Linked DNA regions of Homo sapiens: all the other regions are linked to region 3. The links are contacts of gene promoters, found by promoter capture Hi-C in blood cells and fetal thymus (Javierre and others, 2016). All regions are on one chromosome and are shown on one strand. Each heading gives the region's core, a stretch centred on a gene start or on the middle of the fragment in contact. The rest is flanking DNA. Distances are from core to core; before and after follow the strand shown. Region 1 holds the start of KIF2A (kinesin family member 2A). Region 2 has its middle 2.1 kb from the start of IPO11. Region 3 holds the start of CENPK (centromere protein K).

Region 1 (3,700 bases), core at 206-2,705, 3.3 Mb before region 3:
TTTTAAGGACCTACATGATTACTTACATTAGATAGAAAACTCTAGGCACACATATATCCACATAAGCATTGATGTATATATCCAGTTTCCAATTTTAAAATTTTAAATTGTATATTTGTAGTTATTGTTACAGGGAGATTATCAATGACTAGGGAAGGCCGGGCGCAGTGGCTCATGCCTGTAATCTCAGCACTCTGGGTGGTGGAGGCGGGTGGATTACCTGAGGTCAGGAGTTTGAGACCAGCCTGGCCAACATGGTGAAACCCCGTCTCTACTAAAAATACAAAAATTAGCCAGGCGTGGTGGCGCGGGCCTGTAATCCCACCTACTCGGAAGGCTGAGGCGTGAGAATCGCTTGAACACAGGAGGCAGAGATTGCAGTGAGCGGAGATCGCGCCACTGCACTCCAGCCTGAGCGACAGAGCAAGACTCCCCCTCAAAAACAAACAAAACAAAACAACAACAACAAAAAACAATGACTAGGGAAAGTAGGCCATGAAAAGTGTTGTTTCCAACCTATCAATTGCCAGTACTACAAGCAGGAGTTAGACGTTTGGAGGTTTTCACACGGTGCTATAAATACAGTTTCCAGGGCCCCGGTACACGTGGCCTTCCTGCTCTGCCAGGATGGAGAGTCTTGCTTTCCACATTGCTGATGTGGTCAGACTAATTAAATTATTGCAAAAAGACACATTCCCTAGTCAACCTTATGTGTCTGCCTTCTTCCCTTGAGTCACAGTTGTTGGCTTTACAGGCCAAGGCAAGTAAGTCTTGAACCCTCAGCAGAAACAGGGCACCAGCATCGGATGCCTCATAACCTGAACAGTTAAGGACGCCCCACCACAGAGCTTCTTTCTGAGTGTGATAAACTATAAGGCAAGACTGTAAAGGGGTGGATCTTCATTTCGATTTAGGGTAGGTGACACCTCAAGGGTGTTTCTTCCCTTCCAGCGTAACTGGATGGGAAACCTACACCAAGTGTGCTTGGGAGGGCTGCTTGGGTCAGCTACCTGTAAGTGGAAATAGGGGGTGCCACCTTCCGATGAAAACCCGGATCCCGTACTGTCAACGGAGGGCCCTTGAATTCACATCCCTCAGCCCGCTAGAAAGCCCCTGAAACCACGTGGCCTTTAACCCATTCCGGCAACAGCGCCAATTCCCGGAAGCGAGAGGGCAAGAAAGCTCGGCGCGACGCTTCCCGCGTCTTCTAGGCCGCGCGCTGAAATCAAACGCGACGCCGGCTAGCTGTGGGCCGGGCCGAGCGCTCAACGCTCCAGCGGCTGGGTAAGCCGCGGCCGCCGCCCACCCCGCTGCAGAGCTGGGCGGGGCCGCCTGGAGGCAGCGGGGAGAGGCCAGCCGAAAAGGAAGAAGAGACGCCGGAGGCGCGCTCTGCGCAGGCGCGCGGCGCCCCGCCTCCCCAGCGTCGGCTCCCCGGCGGGCGGTGCGGGCCCTCCCACTCTACCCCGCGCCGTCTCACGGCCCCGGCCCTAGCTTCACCCCGACTACCCGGCGTGCGCGTCCTCCTGCCGGCCTGCAGGCCCGGGGCCTCCGCCTGCTTCCCCACAGCTGCTCCTTGCGGCCCCGCTTGCGTTCACGCTGTCGCCCGGGCCGGCGCGGCCGCGGGCAACCGCTCCCCCTCCCACACCTACCCCGCCCCCTCCCCGCCTTTTCCGCCCTCCGGTCCCCCTCCCTCGGCCCGCTGCTGCTGCTCCAGATGAGGTGATGGCAACGGCCAACTTCGGCAAGATCCAGATCGGGATTTACGTGGAGATCAAGCGCAGCGATGGTGAGCCGCGCTGCCAGCCCCGCTGGCCCGCTCGGCCCCGTGTTCGGGTGTGCACGGAGGGGACGCGGGCGCCGGCCGCCTCATTGATTGCTTCGCCGGGCTGTGGGGGTGGGAAGGCGGCGGCCGCGGCGCTTTTGTGTGTGGCGTGTGTGCCAGTGAGGCCGGCTTGGGGTCCGCCCGGGCGCTGCTGCAGTTCTCCGGATCGGGCCGCGGGGGAGGGAAGCCGGGTGGGGAAAGGGCCCGGGTGTCGAGGGTCGCGTCTCCGGGGGTCTCTGGGCGAGGGCCGCTCGCTCCTCCTCCCGCAATCTCCAGCCCCCCCCCGGGGACACCAGCCCGGGAGGGAGCGGGCTTCGTTAGGGATGACCCTGCCTCGCGCTTCCCCTTGGTCTTTGCATTTTACCGGCTTGGCCTCTGACGGGGATGGGGATGGGGGTGGGGGAGCGGGAAGACCAGCGATTTCACATTTAGAGAACCGACTGCTGGTCGGAGGCCGAGATGGGGGGAAAGAGCCAGTTCCGTCGCCTTAAACTGCCGTCTGGTTGTCAGGCCTCCCCGGTTTCGTCGTCGACCATGCTGCTTTCTTTTTTGCCACTTCTTGGGAGAAAAATGTGGAGAATATCGCGCTGAGCCATGAATAAGGGTGGGGGAGCAATGGGAAGAAATATTCGATGGGCTTCTCCAAGGTGATGAGACTGTAAAGGGAATGATAGGGGATGGGCAGAGTCAATGCGAGGCACTGCTGAGAGAGTGGGGGTGGGCGACCGGATGTTGATATTTTCACACCCTCGGGAGAGGTAACTGAGAAAAGTGTAAGGCGAGGTGAAGACACATGCTTCATTTTTTTTTTTAAGAGCCTTAGGCTTATGTATCTTTCTCTAGGTTTCTCTTGGGGAAAATGGTTTATGACACTAGCTTGGGGTGTGGAGTGAGATACGCCAGCCAGACTGGAAATAATTCATATTGTAAAGGAATAAATGCACGGAGGGAGATAAGTAAAATTATTTTCTTTCGGTACCAATATTGAAAGAACGAGAGATGTGTGATAATCTCGAGTTGAGCAGTGTTCCTGACTCCATCTCTCATACCGATTCCTTTTTTTTTTTTTTTGAGACGGATTTTCACCCAGGCTGGAGTGCAGTGGTGCGATCTCGGCCCACTGCAACCTCCGCCTCCCGTGTTGAAGCTATTCTTGTGCCTCAGCCTCCTGAGTAGCTGGGATTACAGGCGTTGTCACCACACCCAGCTAATTTTTTGTATTTTTAGTAGAGACGGGGTTTCACCATGTTGACAAGGCTGGTCTCGAACTCCTGACCTCAAGTGATCCACCTGCCTCGGCCTCCCAATGTGCTGGGATTACAGGCGTGAGCCATCGCGCCTGGCCTCGATTCCTTTTATGAGTGCCTTATTTATTAACCTTTAGCCTAGCCTAGTCAGTAGTAACTTGGCTGTCACGTCCACGTGCCCCTTGGATTCTGCCAGGTTTGACCAAGTTACGTGAAGCTAGATTGATTTTCATGTTGTGTGTATGATATATTGGAAGACCCTATATAGCTAATGATTTTTTCCTCCGTTATATTTGAAGTAATTTGTGGTAACAACTGAAACCATCGTTATCCTGTATATGAAAAGATAAATTATACCGCTTAGAGCTTTAGAAATTACCAATAACACTAATGGGAAAGAGATACCTTCTTTACTTGGGTTGAGGTTTCTTTTATATTTTCTCTTCAGATTACTTTCTTGAAAGAGTGCTGTTAATGTCATTTTTTTAGGTAAATACGAGTTCACAGTATACCAGCAAAAGTAGGATTTACATATTATTTTGAAGATTCTGGGTGCACAGCAACACCTGTCCCTGGTATACACCCAAGGGAGAGGAAATCACCACCTTGTGAAGATATCTGCACTCTCGCG
Region 2 (3,740 bases), core at 112-2,611, 3.2 Mb before region 3:
TAGTTTATACCTGGAAAATATTTTCAGTACTTTGAATTGGTTCTCTAGTATAGATTTCCAGGCATGGAATTATTTACTCAAACTGCGTGAACATTTTAGTCTTTGAATATAAATTGACAAATTATTTTCTTTTTTTATTTTTTGAGACGGAGTCTTGCTCTGTTGCCCAGGCTGGAGTGCAGTGGCACAATCTCTGCTCACTGCAACCTCTGCCTCCCAGGACTGATTTACATAATCAGTCCTTATGGAAATAATAAACTTGTTTCAAGTTTATTATAAACAAAAATGAATCTAGGAATTATGTTAATTTATAAGCATCTAATGAGCTGTATTATAATGTAGAGTTATCCAAGACTCAATTTTATGCAAGTTAAAATAATAAATGAAGGGTAGCAAATTAGAGAGCCTATAACTTTTGAGCATATATTCTATTGCTGCTTCAGCAAAGTACCACAAACCTAATTAGTGGCTTAAAACAAGATACATTTATTAATTTAGAGTTCTGGAGGTTAGAAGTCTAAAATTGTTTTCATGTCTGAGTTTCTTCTGGAGGCTGTAGAAGAGAATCAGTTTCCATGACTTTTCCAGCTTCTATAGGCTTTCTGCATTCCTTGGCTCATGGCCCTGGCATCCCTCTGACATCTATTATACTGGCATATTTTCTTTGTCTTGGACACTCCAGCGTCCCTCTTATAAAGACCCCTCTGATTACATTGGACCTAGAGGATAATCCAGCATAATCTTCCCATAGTAAGATTATCCTGGATAATTTAATCACATTGGCAAAATCCCTTTTGCTCTGTAAAGTAACATATTCACAGGTTTTGGGGATTAGGACATGGACATCTTTTATTCTACCTACCAGGAAACATAGATCTAAATTTGTTTAGAAATGGAGAACCTCGAGCCTCACCTCAGACTAAATGAATCATGAACTGTATTTTAACAAGATCCCTATGTGATTCTATGAACACTTAAAATTTGAGAAGTACTATCTTTGTTTTTTATTTTTTTTTGAGACAGAGTTTTGCTCTGTTGCCCCCAGGCTGGAGTGCAATGGTGCAGTCTCGGCTCACTGCAACCTCTGCCTCCCGGGTTCAAACCATTCTCCTGCCTCAGCCTTCCGAGCAGCTAGGATTACAGGCATGTGCCACCACGCCCAGCTAATTTTTGTATTTTGGGTAGAGACGGAGTTTCTCCATGTTGATCAGGCTGGCCTCGAACTCCCGACCTCAGGTGATCCGCCTGCCTCAGCCTCCCAAAGTGCTGGGATTACAGGTGTGAGCCACCTCTCCAAGCCTGAGAAGTACTATCTTTCAATAAAATCAGAAGATACAGTTAAGCAAAAAGAAAATAAAGCATGGTCACAATACCCATCCAACTAGTGATAAACCCTCCTAGCATTTTGGCATTTATTTATTTCCAAAAGTGGGACATTCTGAACATAATGTTTTGCAACCCTCTTTTTTCACAATGCATTGTGCATGTGTAAACATGTCAACAAATACACTTCAAGATAATTTTATTTTGTTTAATTAATTAATTAATATATATTTTTTTGAGACAGAGTCTCCCTCTGCCGCCCAGGCTGGAGTGCAGTGGCACGATCTCGGCTCACTGCAACCTCTGCCTCCTGGGTTCCAGCAATTCTCCTGCCTCAGCCTCCCGAGTAGCTGGGATTACAGGTGCCTGCCACAAAGCCCAGCTAAATTTCTGTATTTTTAGTAGAGATAGGGTTTCACCATGTTGGCCAGGCTGGTCTCGCTCTCCTGACCTCCAGCAATCCACATGCCCCGGCCTCCCAAAGTGCTGGAATTACAGGCATGAGACACTGCGCCCGGCCTATTTATTTTTTCTTGAGATGGAGTCTCGCTCTGTCGCTTAGGCTGGAGTGCAGTGGTGCGAACTCGGCTCACTGCAACCTCCGCCTCCCGGCCTCAAGCGATTCTTCTGTCTCAGTCTCCTGAGTAGCTGGGATTACAAGCGCATGCCACCACGCCAGGCTAATTTTTGTAGTTTCAGTAGAGACAGGGTTTCACCATGTTGGCCAAGCTGGTCTTGAACTCCTGACCTCAGGTGACCTGTCCGTCTTGGTCTCCCAAAGTGCTGTGATTACAGGTGTGAGCCACTGTGCCCGACCTCAACATAATTTTAAATGGTCAATTTGTATTTTATTATGTATGGATGTATTGTGATTTAATCATTTGTGTCATTGGTGGTTGTTTAGGTAATTTTATCTTTTTACTTTAAAAAACAGCCCTTGTGTGATCGACATTCTTGGAATGCAGAGCTTGGTTCAAATCCTAACATGGCCTTTTACTAGCTGTTTGACGTTAGGTGGGCTACTTGACTTCTCTGTGCTTCAGTTTCTTCATCTGTGAAGTGGACATAAAGAAAATACCTACCTCATAAGGGTTGTTCTGAGGATTAAAATAGATAATTCCCATAAAGATCTTAAAACTGTACCTGGAATATTCTAAATTAGCAATAAAGGTTTTCTATTATTAATATTTTTGAACACTCTATTTCCTTACAACTTCTTTTACTATTATTATTATTATTTTGAGACGGAGTTTTGCTCTTATTGCCCAGGCTGGAGTGCAATGGCGCGATCTCGCCTCACTGCAACCTTTGCCCCCAGGGTTCAAGCGATTCTCCTACCTCAGCCTCCCGAGTAGCTGGGATTACAGGGGTGCACCATCATGCCCAGCTAATTTTTTATATTTTTAGTAGAGATGGGGTTTCTCCTTGTTGGTCAAGCTGGTCTCGAACTCCTGACCTAAGGTGATCTGCCCGCCTCGGCCTCCCAAAGTGCTGGGATTACAGGCGTGAGCCACTGTGCCTGGCCTTACTATTATTATTTTTAAGAAATATATAGTTGGTGTGTATTTTTAATTAATTTATTTATTTTGAGACGGAGTCTATTTATTTATTTATTTATTTATTTGTTTATTTATTTTGAGACGGAGTCTCGCTCTGTTGCCCAGGCTGGAGTGCAGTGGAGCAATCTTGGCTCACTGCAACCTCTGCCTCCAGGGTTCAAGCGATTCCCCTGCCTCAGCCTCCTGAGTAGCTGGGATTACAGGCGCCCGCCACCGCGCCAGGCTAATTACTGTATTTTTAGTAGAGACAGGGTTTCATCATGTTGGCCAGGCTGGTCTCGAACTTCGGACTTCGTGGTCCGGCCGCCTCAGCCTCCCAAAGTGCCGGGATTACAGGTGTGAGCTACTGTGCCCACCCCTTATTATTTTTGAAATGGGTGTGTGTGTGTGTGTGTGTGTGTGTGTGTGAACTCTCTATATGTCCCAGGTTGGCTTCGAATTCCTGGGCTCAAGTGATCCTCCTGCCTCCATATCTGGAGTAGCTGGGACTACAGGCGCGCGCCACTGCGCCTGAGTAAGTTCTCTTTTTAAGGATAAGAAAATTTAGGTGACTATGCTAGCTTTTAGCAGAGGCAAGCAGAACTGGATTTATGTCCTTTTACATTTTTCCACTCTTGCTATTACTCAGGAGTAAGCGCCAAGCAATTTGGGTAACTTAAAAAATAAATATTTGCGGGAGGGAGGGTGGACTGATGGGAGTAAGATTCTTTAAATAACTCTTCTCTGCTGTGACGGATCCGCTATTGATATCTAGAATATAAAGCGTGAAATGGTTCTGATTGAAGCTTCAATCAACGCAGGAAACAATTGAGCTCCCTGGGAGTCGGAGAAACCAGACCTATGGTTTCCATGGTGACA
Region 3 (3,566 bases), core at 930-3,429:
GACTTGGGCAAGTCACTTAAACTTTCTATGCCTCAGTTTCCTTTCCTATAAAATGAAGATAATATTAAATACTCCCTAGGGTTATGACAATTAAATGAGTATATAAATATATATATATAAGTACTGTAGCTAGCATATAAAGAGCTTTATCAGTGTTAGCTATTAACAATTTGAATGTCAACTAGTAGAAGGCTGAAAATCTCACCTGCTATACCCATAAGATACAGTTTAAGTTCACAAAGCCAAAATCAGTCATCATGAATTTTAGAATATTTTTAAGCGAAAAAGTCAAACATAAATATTTCTTTACTGACCACCAAAATACATTATCAATATGCAAAAGTAATGCAAAACTCTGCACATGTGGTGGGGGCGGAGGGTGAGGGATAAATATTCAACAAATTATCTGGCTTGGCGATTTAATGTGGCAGTAGAATAAAAACATATAGAAACATTTAAGAGTTTGCTCTCTACCGCTTGAGGATGCAAGATGTAAGCTGTATGTAACCTGGAAGAGGGTCATCAACAGAACCAGAAAATGATGGCACCCAGATCTTGAATCTCCAGCCTCTAGACCTGTGAGAAATAAATTTCAGTTGTTTAATTAAAACACACACACACACACACACACTTAAGAGTTGAACTTTTCCCGTTCCCACATTTTGTATCCTTAAACCTATCTTCCTGGAAAGGGAACAAGTCAACTTTTTGAGGTCCCCAGTTAGGACTACAATACTTAATCATTTATTGAAGAAAAACAGTATCTCTTTATTTAGGGATAATACTATACTTAAAGAAACTCGTACTATTAATTGGGAAAAGATTAATATACATGAAATAAGCAAAAAATACCCACATAATTCTAAAATACATTCATTTATTCAACAAATATGTTAATGTGTGCCATTGGTCAGACACTGGCTTTAGCTGTGTAGATGAAAAAGTCTTTGTACTTGTAGAGCTTCCATTCTCATGCAGACAATATAAATGAATGGATAACTAAATACATGATATGATTTCAGGTAGTCAGAAGTGCTATGAAATGGTAAAGTATACAACACTGCCTGCAAGTACTATCGGAATTCAGGATAGGGAAGCTTAGAAAAACCAACCCGGAAGGAATTAGTCCATAATAATGCTTAATAAATGTTAACTAGCTACATTATTATTATCATTATCATTATCATCTTCATCCTCATTATTGCATTGGTCTCTGAAAGATGAGAAGCTGTAAACATGAAGGCTAAATCGCTGTGGAGATGCTTTCAAGCATAAAAACATAAGAGTAGGAGGCAAGAACGAACAAGGGAAATTTGTGAGACACAAAAGAAAGTAGTCTGATGAGAGCAGAGGGCAGAGAAGAAATGAGACTTGCTAGGTAGAATGGTCAAATAATGGGAACCTTTGAAATAAAATAAAGTGCCTACTATGGGGGGGCAGTTCCTTCCCTGTACGTGGTGCCTATCTCAAGGCAAAAGTAGAGAAGAGATTTACGACGAGGATTTTATTAGGTTGGTGCAAAAGTAATTGCAGAGAAAAAAGAAGTGTTTTACGGAGGTCATTTTGACAAGCTGTATTTGATTTTTTAAAAAAGAGATTAAGATAATACATTTTATGTTATGTGCTTTTTACCTAATTTTTTAAAAATGAAGAAGACAGATGAGGAGGAGGAGAAAGAGTTCAGATGACTGCTAGGAGATGAAATCCTATACCAGAGAGAAGAAAGAAGAGTGACCCGTTCTGCCCTAGGTCTTTTGGTTATTTGAAGTAGCTGCTTCTCCACCCCACCCCCAGAAACAGTAACAAGCACTCACCACCTTCTTCAGAGAGTGTGTGAGAGAATAAAGGTCAGGAGAGAAAACATGTTTAGTGCATCTGAAAGGAAACCCGCGAGTTAACCACTTCCTTCTGTCCCCACCCTTCCATCTTTCTCTAAATATTGGTGAGGTTATGGAGCTTGCGTTGGCGCGCGGGAAGCCGAGAAGAACGGGACTCAAAGCCCGGCTGGGAAGTCAGGTATCTAGTTGGCCGGCGATAAGGGTTTCACCTTCAGGACTGGAGCTCCACAAGATTCAACCGTTATATCAACCTCCCCGGCCCAGGTCTTACCATCACAGCGTCACAAACTCCAGGTCGCCTAGGCGCTGCGCAGGAAGCGCTTGCCAGCCCCGGACTTCTGCGCGCGCTGCATGCCCATTGGATGTGCTCATTCCCACCCCAGCCAATCCCGAAACTCGCTCGGACGCTGACAGAAGACTGCGCCGCTGCTTTGGGATTGGTAGCTGAGTTTTGTGTCGCGCCTTTTCTGACGATGCGAACAACATGGCGGCGGAAAGTGGTAGCGATTTTCAGCAGAGACGTAGAAGGCGCCGGGACCCGGAGGAACCGGAAAAAACAGAACTCAGCGAAAGAGAGCTGGCAGTAGCAGTGGCGGTGTCCCAGGAGAACGATGAGGAGAACGAAGAGCGCTGGGTTGGACCTTTACCTGTGGAGGCAACACTGGCCAAGAAGAGGAAAGGTAGCTGCAGACATAGTACCGGGACGAATTGGAGTGCTGCGTCCGCTGAGTAGGAGGGTTCAAGCCAGATCCGAAGAGGGATGATGTGTGGAGTTTTGTGCCCTCAGAACAGAGGGCCGTCCTCTCACTTCTGGCTACTCCATACTTGCATGTCTTAACGAAATAGTGATTTAAGCGTAGTACAACGTCTTTTTGATAATATCTAACACTTTTGATCATTGATTTGTTATGACAGATGCTAAAACTAACATTTTCCTATTCTTATGTGTTTGGCTCCTCTCATTTACTCCCCACAGCAGCCACATGAAGTTGGAATTTCGAACTCTTATTTAGGTATGCAAAAGGGTACCAGTTCTCTTTAAGGCTTTAGTTCAGGAGTGGTGTTAATGTATTAATGTGTTGGGGCGCGAGAGGAAGGCGGTGCTTATTTCGAATCATGGTAGGTAAAGATAATTTCAACTCTGACACTTCCACTAATAAATTTTCGCATCTAGGGAAAATGACGTAAGCTTCCTAGATCACAGATTTGTTTTCATCCAAAACCCGAAGTCTGTGGTTTTGAAATCACGCTCTTGATACGATGGGCTGAGTCTTTTTGTCACTAACGAGGAATAATCACAAATTATTATCAAATAAAAGGGGTGGGAAAAGGGGTAGATTAAGTTTTCTTGTCTTTGTTGTTTTGTTATCTTGTTTTTCTGTGAAATGTTTTCCTTAAGTATTTAAGACATTTTAAATGTGGTCTAAGCTCAAATCGTACTTTAGCACCTTCCCTTAAAAAACTTCAATGATTTGTCATTATTTTCTCTCTCTTTTTTTTTTTTTTTTTTTTTTTTGAGACGGAGTCTCGCTCTGTCGCCCAGGCTGGAGCGCATGCAGTGGCGCTATCTCGGCTCACCGCAACCTCCGTCTCCGGGGTTCAAGCGATTCTCCTGCCTCAGCCTCCCGAGTAGCTGGGGCTACAGGCGCACGCCCAGCTAATTTTTGTATTTTTAGTAGGGACGGGGTTTCACCATGTTGGCCAGGATGGTCTTGATTTCTTGACCTC

Evidence for each region. The method cuts DNA at HindIII sites, captures the fragments that hold promoters and counts their contacts. A CHiCAGO score of 5 or more calls a contact.
Region 1: the fragment with the promoter of KIF2A here is called in contact with the fragment with the promoter of CENPK in region 3 in 3 of 17 cell types (naive CD8 T cells, total CD4 T cells and total B cells); the score reaches 10.4 in naive CD8 T cells.
Region 2: a contact is called between a fragment that was not itself captured here and the fragment with the promoter of CENPK in region 3, in 9 of 17 cell types (total CD4 T cells, naive CD8 T cells, non-activated CD4 T cells and 6 more). The highest score is 13.2, in total CD4 T cells.

Annotation. Positions count from the first base shown.
Region 1 is chr5:62,304,751-62,308,450 of GRCh38, forward strand. KIF2A (kinesin family member 2A) reads left to right here and starts at 1,456. Exons shown (of 21, transcript NM_001098511.3): 1 at 1,456-1,786. The coding sequence starts at 1,723. RefSeq lists a silencer at 1,160-2,189. The HindIII fragment of the contact is 9,341 bases long and covers 1-3,700 here.
Region 2 is chr5:62,408,824-62,412,563 of GRCh38, forward strand. No RefSeq gene overlaps it. Among named protein-coding and RNA genes, the nearest start is that of IPO11, 2.1 kb to the right of the region's middle. The HindIII fragment of the contact is 4,608 bases long and covers 1-3,665 here.
Region 3 is chr5:65,560,989-65,564,554 of GRCh38, forward strand. CENPK (centromere protein K) reads right to left here and starts at 2,180. Exons shown (of 11, transcript NM_022145.5): 1 at 2,110-2,180; 2 at 475-576. PPWD1 (peptidylprolyl isomerase domain and WD repeat containing 1) reads left to right here and starts at 2,308. Exons shown (of 11, transcript NM_015342.4): 1 at 2,308-2,518. The coding sequence starts at 2,323. RefSeq lists enhancers at 1,435-2,096, 1,817-1,956, 2,097-2,757. The HindIII fragment of the contact is 1,930 bases long and covers 1,096-3,025 here.